2 separate regions of the Homo sapiens genome follow, and region 2 is linked to region 1. Evidence: promoter capture Hi-C in 16 types of primary human blood cells and fetal thymus (Javierre and others, 2016). All regions are on one chromosome and are shown on one strand. Each heading gives the region's core, a stretch centred on a gene start or on the middle of the fragment in contact. The rest is flanking DNA. Distances are from core to core; before and after follow the strand shown.

Region 1 (5,631 bases), core at 2,067-4,566:
ACCAATATTCATTTTGTTGTCGTTCTTAAGATGCTGGGAGACAAAAGAACTACTTTTGTAGATTATCAACCAAAGAATATATTAATTTCTTACAAATCTGAACAAAAAACATTCCTTTTGAATACTTTTACATACAAAGAACTATTATTTATTACATATTTCAGCTTGTGGGAAAGTGAGGAATGCATTGATTCTGGAAATAACTATTCAGACTTTTGGAAGTTATTTAGGTCTTCTTTCTCTATCTTCCCCCCGCCCCCCATCCTGCCCTCCCACCAAATTTTAAGGAGGTAGTACTTTAGGAGGGAAATCCCTATTCGTTATTTTTTCATATATTATTTATATTCATTATTCAGAAATAAATACAAAATTGAATTGTAATTTTATTTCTCTTGTATAATGTTAGATGTAGCATTATCCAAATTTGACAATGCCTTGTATTTTATAGCTACTGTTTAAATATTATGTATTACCTATGACTGAACAACTCTACATTTAAAATATTGTTTTCATTAGAAAAAACTATGAAGTAGTAAGTGTCAAATGAAGATGAAGAATAAACATATTTGGTATATTTATAAAATGCATAGTCATTTAAAACGTGTACAAATAGAATACATAGTTTGCTACTGTTACATTTTATATAGTATACACATTGTCTACAGTGTATTTAATAATGTGCTTAACCAAGTTAATTAAAGTATTTATGTCTGATGATTGTGTAATAAACACTTGGAGAGGTAGTGAAAGATACAGCCAGTTACTTCTGCTAACTAAAGTTGAAATTATGCACTTATTATAACCTTTTCTAACAATGTGAGAAAAACAGAGTAAATATATTAAATTTGTTTCACAACAGATGCTTAGGTTGTTAATATTTAAGATGCCTATTCATGCTATTCCTGTCTGCACATTTGTCAAAAATGTAAGCTTGAATGCTAATGTTTGCCAGCAGACTGGAGCAGCCAGTATATGAATGTACTACTGTTCTAAGAAAATAATATGCAATAGAAATAGAGGACTACTGCTAAATCATAGCAGTAGTACCATACAGGAGATGAGAGGTTTTTAGAGCAAACACCTCAACCTTGGTTTTCTTCAGACTTAAAGTATGGGTTTTTGTTTTTGATTTTTGCAGCTACATTTGACCACAGAATAAATCTCACATTCCTGACATCTCAGAAAAATCCACTTTGGATAGAGTGTAAATTTCAACTAAGTTTCAACGGGATGAGTTACTCTGTCAGCAGTACAAACACCGTAAATTTCAGATTGCTTAGGACAAAACCTGACACCGAGCGGTAACATTTTACTCATTCTTACCCTACCCGCCACCCCCTTGAGAAAGTCAGGTCCCCTGGCCTCCAAGGATGCAAACATGGAAACCCAGTCAGTCAGAGCAGTAAGGTTCTCTCTGGGGAATAGGGCATCCTTCTGTTTTCCCTGTCTCTTTTATAACCATGTGGAGTCCAAGTCTTAGAACATTTGCTTGTAAGTCCGGAATGCCACTGAGAAAGTTCGCCAAGGAAGGGCGCAGAGGTCAAAGTTGCCAACCAGGACACTTTGAGAGAGGACCCTGTGGTTGACATTTGTTAGTGAAATTTGCAACACCTCAGTGGAGGCCAAGGCCAAAACTTTCAAGGAGATCCCTATGCCCCTTTCCCCTGTTGGTCTTCTGAGGTCATCCCAAGAGGAAACTGCGTTTCCCCAGTAAGCACGTGGCACTCCCCGGACCTGCCACCTGCCTGCTTCGTCCTTCTCGTCGTGGTTTCCCAAACCCCGGTTCTGCCGGCCCGGGAGCCTTAGCACTGGAGCAATAGGAAAAGGCCACCGCGCTCGGGTCTGGACAGCAGGAGGGAAACACGGTGTGGACTGCGAGGCTGCACCTGTGATGTCCCGGCCCCTGCTAAGAGGACGGCCCTTTCTTCTGCCTCTTGCCCAACTCCAAACCCACATTCACGCCAGCAGCCTCTCCAGGACCGGCCTCGCTACAGCCAGCGAGGGCTCGAAATGAGGAGTGCCGCGGCTTTCAAACTCCGGGCTCCAACTTGAGCGCCCCGGCGCCCGAGTAGCTCCCGGGATGCAGAAGTTGCCACAAACTTCCCAGGCCCCTCTTCGCCGATGCTTACAATCAGCCGCGCAGGCAGGGAGCGGAGGGAGGCGGAGATGGACCGGGAAAGGATGCTGAGCAGACTCGCGATCCGGTGGGGGAACATTACCACTCCCGCAGCCCACTCCTCCAGGCACCTTACTGCCCGCCCGGCTCCAGAACGCACCGAGAGGCTCCCCTTTTCCCCATTTGCTTCCTTCGGTCTTTTCCACTCCCCTTTCCTTTTCTAAAAGGGGCCATACCGGTGACCTGAAGGAGTTTGTTCAGCCAGGGTCTATTGGGCAGGTGTGGTGGTGTGTCCACACCCAGACAGAAAACGAATGGCATCTTCAAATCCCCCATCCCGACCGCTCTCCCCTACTCTACCAGCCCACCCCTCCAAGGTCCGTCTGCGTGAGAAAAGGGGCTCGGAAGACCGTTGAAGCCCTGCGCCCACGAGAGGGGAGCCCAGCCGCCCCAATAGGGGACGAGGAGTGGGTGCTACGGAGAAGTTTGGATTGATTCCGGAAAAAGAGGGACAGAGATAAAACAGCAAGAGTAGCAAGGGGAAAAGGGAGGCAAAAGAGCAGAACTCACTCAGGCATGGACGTTGGGGGCGGCGGTGGCTGTCGAGTGCGGGCCTGAAACCAAGAACGGCTCCCCGGGCGGGCGCGCCGGCGTCGGACTTCCGAGGCGGCGGCTTCTGCCTCTCCTGCCGCCGCCGCCGCCGCCGGAGCTGCGGCTGCCGCGGAAGTTAATTGCAACTTGACTTCAAGTTGTCCTCTTTCCCCATACGAAGTGGGCGTTTAAAGGGGAGAGCGAGGCGAGGAGCGAGCGAGCGAGCGCGCGGGGCCAAGGGAAGGAAGAGAAGGAGGGGGAGGGAGGAGATGTTAACGGGCGGGGGGGGGAGAAGGGGGAGGGGGCGGCGGCGGGGGCGGGAGGGGGAAGGGGCCGGCGGGAGCTGCTCTCGTCTCGTCGGTCGCGGCGCCTGCAGTCTGGAGGCGCACCGGAGCGGCCGGGGCGTCCCCCGCGGGAGCCCGCAGCCACCCGGGACGCGCATCCAGACGTGGCGCTTCGGACCGGGCACGCTGCGCCCGGGGGCTCGGCGGACCCCGCGTAGCCGCCGCTTCGGAGCTTGTGCGGCGCGGGCTGGCCAGCGGGGCGGCCAGGGCCCGGCCCGCCTCCCCAGCGCCCGCCCGGCTTCTCCCCCTGGCGGTGGGAGCCTCGGCGGCCGCTGGCGACACTAGGCGCACTGAAGCCCGAGCCGAGCCGAGCCCGAGCCGCCGCCGCCGCCGCCGCTGCTGCGCACCGCTCCCGGGCTCCCTCCCAGCGCGCCGGCCGGGGTGTGGGGGGCGGCGGGCCGGAGGGGCGAGGGCGGGCCAGGGGGCGCACACGGGGGTTGGCGCGGAAGACAGGACCCTCAGCCTCGAGGGGTAAGTGTGGGCGCTTGGGGGTGCGCTTGGGGTGCGCGGCGCGGTTCTCGTCGCCCGCCAACCCTGCCCCCTCACCTCTCCGGGGGCCCCCAACACGCGCACTCCTCCTCTTGTCGCCTGCGGCTTCCTCTTGTTGCTTGTTGTTTGGCTGGGTTTTGGGGGGTGAGTAGAGGGGGTTACTGTAGTGTGTGTGCAGGCGGAGGAGGAAGTCAGGTGAGAGGCCGCGAAGCACCCCCACCCCAACCCAGCCTGCGTGGGGTGTATGCTTCCCCACTAGGGGCATTTGGGCCATTTTTTTTTTCTCCGTCAATGTTCGGTCGAGACGATGTTTCCTAGAGGGCCTCCTTCACTTACAGTCTGGTCTGTCCATCTCCCTTCATCCCACCCTCGTCCGTCTTAGCCCCTTGTCCAGGAGCCCTGCACCCCAAGTGAGGAGCACGTGGCGGAAGGAGGAGGAGGCCCTCTCTTGAAGACCCCCACGCTGTGACCCAGCCCATTAGTTTAAATATTTATCCTCACATCACCAGCTGTACTTTTCAACCCACTGGAACAAGACGCCTAGGCAAGGTCCAATTTCCCCAAAAAGCTGGGGGCAAAGCGGGAGAGATGAGGGTTTTATTGACATTGGGAGAGAAGGGGCCAAGGAACCTTCCCAAGTGGAGACTGAAACTCAAAAAATCTCTACAAAAAGACTAGGGTGACTGGAGGCTCAGGACTGCAGGCTTAGGAGAAACTGGAGCTCCATCAACTTTATTTCTCTCCCCCTGCCTCTCCTCCCCCCAGCTCTGAGGAAGCTAACAGGTCTTTTGTTTTGTATTGTGTAGCCTTTGGGAAATTTGCATTGAGTATGTCAACAGAAAATTACTACTGTTTACTCAAAGGGATTGCAGAAAGATAAAACATAGTAACATAGTTTTTACTTTTCCTCTTCTTTGTACGCTTGTGTGTATTTGGCAAGAAGTGTAGTTAGGTTCATGGCATGAACTGCAAAACGTCAGGTTGTAACAATAAGGACTGTAGAGCTGCCTAGGTGTATTTTTAGAAGCCGCACTTTCTTGAATTCCTTTCACACAAGGCTTGCTCTCTCATTAAGTCCCCATAAATAATTTTATTTAGAGAGGAGGAAACTATGGAAGCAGGAGGGAGATTGCTAAGATTTCCATCCTGCCAGCGCACAGCACTGTTTGCAGGGAAGTTCCTGGAAAGTGATTGTGGGCTGAGAATTCAGTTTTTCCTAAAAGCTCTGTTAGGTCCTGTTGTGTCAGATGGCTATGAATAAAGCACGCTGGGAAAATCCTGATATCCGTGCAGTCTTATTTTATCTTTTACACAGTGGTTGATTCGACTTTCAAGCCCTGGTGACAAACACATCAACTCTGCTGTATTTTTGTGTGCTTTTTCTAAATAAAGGAGAATACAGCATGTATTCATGCTGCTTTTTTCCCCTCATCCATGGTTATTGAATTCACTGGAAGTTATTCATCTTTTTTCAGTTGATCATCATTTTATGCCGAGACCACAATTCCAAACATATAGGAATTTTTTAAAATTATGAATTAGGGTTCTTTTAGGGAACCAACCCTCCTTTTTAAAGATACAAGTGCCCACCACAACTCCTAGTTTTGTAAAGCAAAGCAAAAAGGTATAAATGATTATAATGAGCAAAACATAGTAAAACGTTTTCCTTCTTGGATCACTTTCTGTCCCCACAGGTCCCAGGAGACATTAAATCCTCCTGCCTTAATTTACCAAAATGCTGCATTTCCTAACCAGTAACAATATCTGTGTCTGAGAAAGACATCAGGTTTGGAATGGAAAAAAATACATTCTCGGTATTTAATTACTGCTTAACAGTAATTTATTGTAGCAGGCAGTTGATTTTCCAATTCTGAAAGCCTGAAATGAAGCTGAACAGAAATTTGAAATTTTTAAAAAAGGTTTTTTTTTCTTTCTTACACTCTTATATACTCATCTGCTTCCCCAAGTTATCAGCCAAGCCCCTATAACTGAAAGTATGATATGCTCCTCTGAGTTGAACCGAGACCATTTTGCCCCTCATTTTTTGAATTTGCTTTTTCCTCCCAATAGTCTTGTATAGAAAGCACATGG
Region 2 (5,769 bases), core at 51-2,550, 1.5 Mb before region 1:
GAAAATAAAGGATATCGCTTAGATTTTTATTTCTATCAATCCGTGCTAATAGCTTATATTAAATGCCAATGTAATTATTCAGATGATATATATGTTTTGTGATATATCACAAAAGACATTTTCAACATATATAGATATGTTGAAACACGTATCTATATAGATATAGATATATGTTGAAACATGTATCTATATCGATATAGATATATGTTGAAACATGTATCTATATCGATATAGATATATGTTGAAAATGTCTTCTAGTATGTGACTTGCTTTTTCACTGTCTTAAAGGGTATATTTTAATGAAAATTCTTAATTTTAGAGAAGTTCAGTGTATCAGTATTTTTCTTTATGGTTATTATTTTTGAGTCCTGTTTCAGAAATGTTTACTTAGCCTAATTCTATGAAGATAGTCATTTATTTAACCACTGGAGTCTTATTGTTCTATTTTTCATGTTTAGATCTGGATTTCATTTTGTGTGTGTGGTGTGAGGTAGGGTTAAAGATTTTCTTTCCATATAAATATCCAATTAATTCAGCACCATTTATTTGAAAATAGAATCTCTTTCCCACTGCACTGCATTGGTCTTCGATCCTAGATCAAGTGGCCATTTATGTATGGGTCTGTTTTTGGAGTCTATTTTGTTACATACACATAAAGTCCTTATATACTTACCACACTGTCTTTCTGGCTAGGTATATACCTAACAGGAGTTACTCCATATGTATATTGAAAGACATTTCCAAGAGTCCTTAAAGCAGCATTAATTCTAACAGTCCCAAATTGAAAGCAACAACTCAAATGCCTATCTTATAAAATAGCGTATCATACAGTGGAATCCTATGAGGAAAAGGAAGAAAGAACAGAAACAGCAGATGACTGCCCTATGCACTGCTTGAGTCTCCCAAGCATAATGCTAAGGGAAATAAACCAGCCACAAAAGAATACATATTTTTGATTATAATTATATAAAGTTCAAAAGCAGCTAAACTAATTTGGAGTGGTAGAAGTTATAATAGTGGTTACACTTGGGGATAATAATTGAGGGAGGAAGCAAGGGTCCTACTGGGTGCCAGTGATGTTTGGTTTCTGCATCTGGTTGGTGATTCCAAATGTGGGTTTACTTTGTAAAAATCCATTAGGTTTTACACTTAGGATTTTTTTTCTGGAAGTCTATCATACTGCAACAAATTAAGTTTATTCAAACAATTAAATTGTGAACATTAATCAAACTCAGATACCAATTGGTTACTTCCTCCTGCACTATTTAGGGCCGTGCCTTTTACAGTTTTTTGCTGTCTGTGGATCAGCATGTGAAACATTTCTGCTGCTGTGGACACTTGTACGTGGTGAGACCTGCTAAAGCCCTGCACTAGTTGATGGCCTGGAGAGGGGGTGGGTGGAGAGAGGGGCAGCTTGCTGGAAGAGCCTGAGGACTGGATCTTCCTTGGAATATACTGAAAGCACAAAAGGAGCTGGGCCTGGGTGGAAAGTTGACACATTAGTGAAGAGTGTGTTGGTCACTGCAGTCATCTTACACTGCAGTCGTGATTGCTTGGAGTTTTTATGATTTGTTTAGTGTAGTTTTGAGCTTCAGGTGCACTCGAAAGTTTTAATATTTGAAAATGTGCTGCTCATAATAAAACTTTGAGAACCACTCGTTTGTGGAGCACCTGCTCTTCACATAACAGTTTTCTAGATAGAGCTTTTTGGTCTCAAAAGCAGTTAACAGAGCAAAACCAGTTATCCAGATATACGGACAAAATGGAGAGTTGTTTGATCACTGCTAAGTAATAGCATACCTAGGATCTCAGGTGGTCGGTCAACAGAGAGTTTTAGCTCTACTGAACACTTATTCTGCCTAATCTAAATATTCTTTTGGGTAGGAAAGGACGAAGGGGAAATAATCTTCAGATGGGTCATTTTAAGACACATTGGAATTACCTGGATTCTAAAACATACTAATGTGAAGACCCCACCTGGCTGCAATTGAATCAGAACCTCTGGGGGTTTCCTAAAGTGCCCTGGGAGATTTTAAAGTATAGCCAGGGTTAACAACAGCTGTGAAACCTTTCTTATATGTTGGGTTCTCGACTTCCCTGTGTAGCTCTGTTAGATATGAGAGAACAAACAGCTCCCGGAATCCTGCAGATGATAGTTGGTGAGCATGTGGCTGGTGGGGTGTAGGGGGCAGGATTAAACCTTAACTTGCCGCGGTGGAGTTTTTCTTTAAGGGAGTCGAGCTGCCCTTTTTTGGAGGGGATATAAAATGTCAATGAAGGGGAATAATTCCTTAGTAAAATTTGGAGAAATAGATTTTATATGTGAAAATGACAGTCTGCCCTATGTGTCTTTTTTTGATCTAGGTAAAGGTAAAAATTATGTCAATTAAAAAAAAAAAAGGCCCTGGGTTGGTTATTTGGAGCCTTAATCCCCCTTGATTAATCATTACTGTGCAGCTCCTAGTCCCTGTAGTTCCTGGCGAGTCCCTGGGCTCTTGTCCATCCCTCACAAGAGAAACTATATAGGTGTACCCATGGCATTCTGCAGCATGAAGGAGGAGCCTCCCTAGGAAAAATTGTCTTTAGAAAGAATTAGTTTGGCAGAGGCACTAGCACTATTTCTAGAGAGAGGTGATTGGATGTTTCACTTTGCTAAATGAGTGTAGTAAAAACGCTGTTTACTCACAGAAGATTATAAATCGGCACTTGCCAGACAGGTGTCTGTTTGTAAGGGTGATTTATGCGGGGAGGATGTGAACCATCTGGTGATGCTCCAGTGCTCCGCCCGAGGGTGGGCTGACATCTGGGTTGGCACGTCATGACCTTTGCGTGAATGTGTACTTTCTGAATGCTAGAGCATTTTCCTCTTGCCATGCTGACCTTCGCGGTAAAGAGGAATGAACATTGAACTCCTGAGGCATCTATAAAACATATTTTATTGGCTGCAAAGCAGTAACATGAAGATTTCAGTCGTTACTTGTTTGTAACCTTAGTTATGCAGTGTGTACTCATTTTCTCCTCAACTGGACTGCACAAATTATTAGAGGTTGTCATTCCCATTTATTTTTTTAGGTCATTTTTTTTTTCTCTTCCACATTGACAAGGATGAGTCTTCTAGCCAAGAAGCTTGTGCCCCTCACTTGTCTTGAGTAGGCACCAAGGAAGAGTAGTGACCTGAGGGGAAGGCCAAGTCCTTGGAGACCCCTGTTTAGAGGCCGGAGAGGCACCAACAGTTTGGCAGCAGCAAAGTTTTCTCAAGCTGTCCCTATCTTGATTGTGACACAATTGTTAACACATATACCTTTGACAGGCAGTTTTATTTACGTATTCTAAATGGGAGGTGTAGTAGAAATGAACTTTAATATTCTTTGGGGAGAGAAAATCTACAGCCTTTTTTTTTTGGAACATTCAGTACTCAGTAATATTTACCAAGTGAAGAATAAGAGAGGTTTCCTTTCCTACAGCATAATTAGCCAGATCTTACCCATCTTCATTGTTAGGAAAAAAAGTATTGTTGAAAAAGATTTTAAAATAGTTAAATAGCCCTTTTGTCCTAAGGAATAGCTGCCGGGTATGAATGCTACCCGGAGGGGTCTGGAAGCAAGAGAGTGAAATAGTGCGAGAGAAACAGGCACATAGCCACATAGCAAGCGTTCTACTGGGCTCCTTACTGGGAAGTTGGTGAGATGTGTGGCCTCTGTGGCAGTGGCCCTGACCTGTCCTCATCATTACTGGTTGCCAGACAGTAAAGTAAGACAAGGTGGAGGATGGCTTAGAAGATACCACCAAAATAACAGGGCTTGATAAAGCTGTCCCCAGATACAGTTTGGCAACTCTCAGGGCCGTCATTCCTGGGAACAACAGGGACCACGGGATCTATTAGTTATGTTCCAAAATGGCACTTAAAACCTTTCCACACCAGGTCACACATGGAAAATGATATAATTGTCTAGATAACATGAGGAGATTGCTTGGGGCCAGAGGCCCCAGCCAGCTGTGGCAGGGGTTGGAGGGTGGAGGGGGAGGGGGTTGCGGGGACCCACGCCTTGGCAGGCCATTTGGCAGTAATACTTGGCAGTAACCATTAGTGCTGTGCTGGGGCGTGTTTGTCAGGAGGTTGTGCTTCAAAAGGTGGTAGAGAGAAGAATGGAGGAACAAGGAAAGGTACAGTAAGCTGCAGAGTGCTGTGTATCTGTCACTATCGAGGGGATGCCCTTTGCACCATGATTCTCACTTTAGTGGTGAGTTGAATCTTGGCCTCAAGGCATGTCATGGAGCTGTGGCCACTGTGGAAACAACACCAGCAGACAGCTTAGCCTGTATATGGATGGAGCGTCTCAGCAGGGAGAGGAACAGTTGAGCATCTACCTTCACAAGAGGGCTGCTTTTCTACATAGAGAGGACTGTTAGTCCAGCCTTAGGCTTTTCTGCTGTATCTAAACAGAGCAGCCCATTGGGGTCATGTTTGAAAACAGCAACAACAGAGTATCAAGTAGGTACAGAGGCTGAATTCCCTGAATTTCTGTGCAGAAGTTCACACCAGAGACCTGGACACTAGTTGGGGAGCTGGCCTGTGGAGACCAAGAGCTGCAACTTGAGAGTCATGAGTTCTGATTCGGGTCTGCACCTCTGCTTGGTTGAAGTGTTAAATGTGTCCAGAAGACTGTGTTTTCTCCTCTTTTTTCTGTAAAAAGTGCGTGAAATCTTGTCTGCTTGATTTCTTGTATGTCTTTTCGGGACCAGGGCAAGTACTTTTCGCATGACTGACATGGTAAGTAAAACCTGTATGGATCTTGGGAAGAGCTCTTGGTCTGAATGATTCAGTTTTTGCTATTTTGCTGTTGATTTGATTATTTATGTGAGAAAGATCTGTGCTGTTCCTGAAAATTTGCTAATAAATCCATTAAAATATCCCCCCCGCCGCCCCCCGTCAAAACACCCTAACAAGAAACTATCCTATTTTAGAGGGCACGTTTACTTTTTCCCATCTCTTATTTGAAATGTTCTTTTCAACATTCCCTGCTTTGCTTTTTTGAATATCATGTTTTAGTTTTTTATTTTTATTTTGGTTCACTGTGGCTTTGGTTTAATTACCCTTTTAAATGGAAACATGTAACTGCAGGCCCAGTCCATCATTTGTATTAGTTTTCAGCACTCTGAACTTGGGTGGGTTGGGCACGATTGTTTTAGTTGCTACCTGGATAAGACTGTTGAGATCTTAATCTCAGAGTCTTGAAGAATTCTGTTACTGAGGTAGCAGTGACTGTTTACTAAAGAAAATAACCTTCATTTTTTCTTCTTGACAGAGGTAAAAATTCAGAGAAGAATTTAAGAAGTCAGGGCAATAAGATTAATTTAAACAGTTATTTCTGTGTGTTTAGTATTGTCACTAGACTTAAAAAGACAATAAAAATTTTAACTGATAAAATTACAAATCATCCTTGTTTTCCTCATAGAGCATATCAAATTCAGAAGAAAGAAGCTATAAACTTTATATCTAGCATGCATTTTGACTTTTAAGAAAATCAGTTAAACTCTGTATCTCACCGTATTCTCTCTACAGTATATTGAAATAAAGCTATATGTTGATTTGCTCATTTCATTAGGATTATTATCCTGATGTTTTAAAAGGTTTTTAAAGCTCCTGAAGCAAGATGTTATAAAAATGCAAAAAACTTCATAACCAAAAAAGTCTGGGAAAGTTAGTTTGTATGCTAATAACACCTCATATTTGCATAGCTCTTTCATCCCTGCAAGACCACCTTTAAC

The links. The method cuts DNA at HindIII sites, captures the fragments that hold promoters and counts their contacts. A CHiCAGO score of 5 or more calls a contact.
Region 2: a contact is called between a fragment that was not itself captured here and the fragment with the promoter of SATB1-AS1 in region 1, in 1 of 17 cell types (non-activated CD4 T cells). The highest score is 5.1, in non-activated CD4 T cells.

What each region holds. Positions count from the first base shown.
Region 1 is chr3:18,441,921-18,447,551 of GRCh38, forward strand. It overlaps SATB1-AS1 (SATB1 antisense RNA 1), which reads left to right and starts at 3,317. Exons shown (of 7, transcript NR_125803.1): 1 at 3,317-3,522. It also overlaps a transcript of SATB1 not described here. RefSeq lists a silencer at 3,223-3,442. The HindIII fragment of the contact is 8,267 bases long and covers 929-5,631 here.
Region 2 is chr3:16,894,914-16,900,682 of GRCh38, forward strand. The region is part of intron 1 of PLCL2 (phospholipase C like 2); the gene reads left to right. Among named protein-coding and RNA genes, the nearest start is that of PLCL2, 13 kb to the left of the region's middle. The HindIII fragment of the contact is 3,647 bases long and covers 1-3,124 here.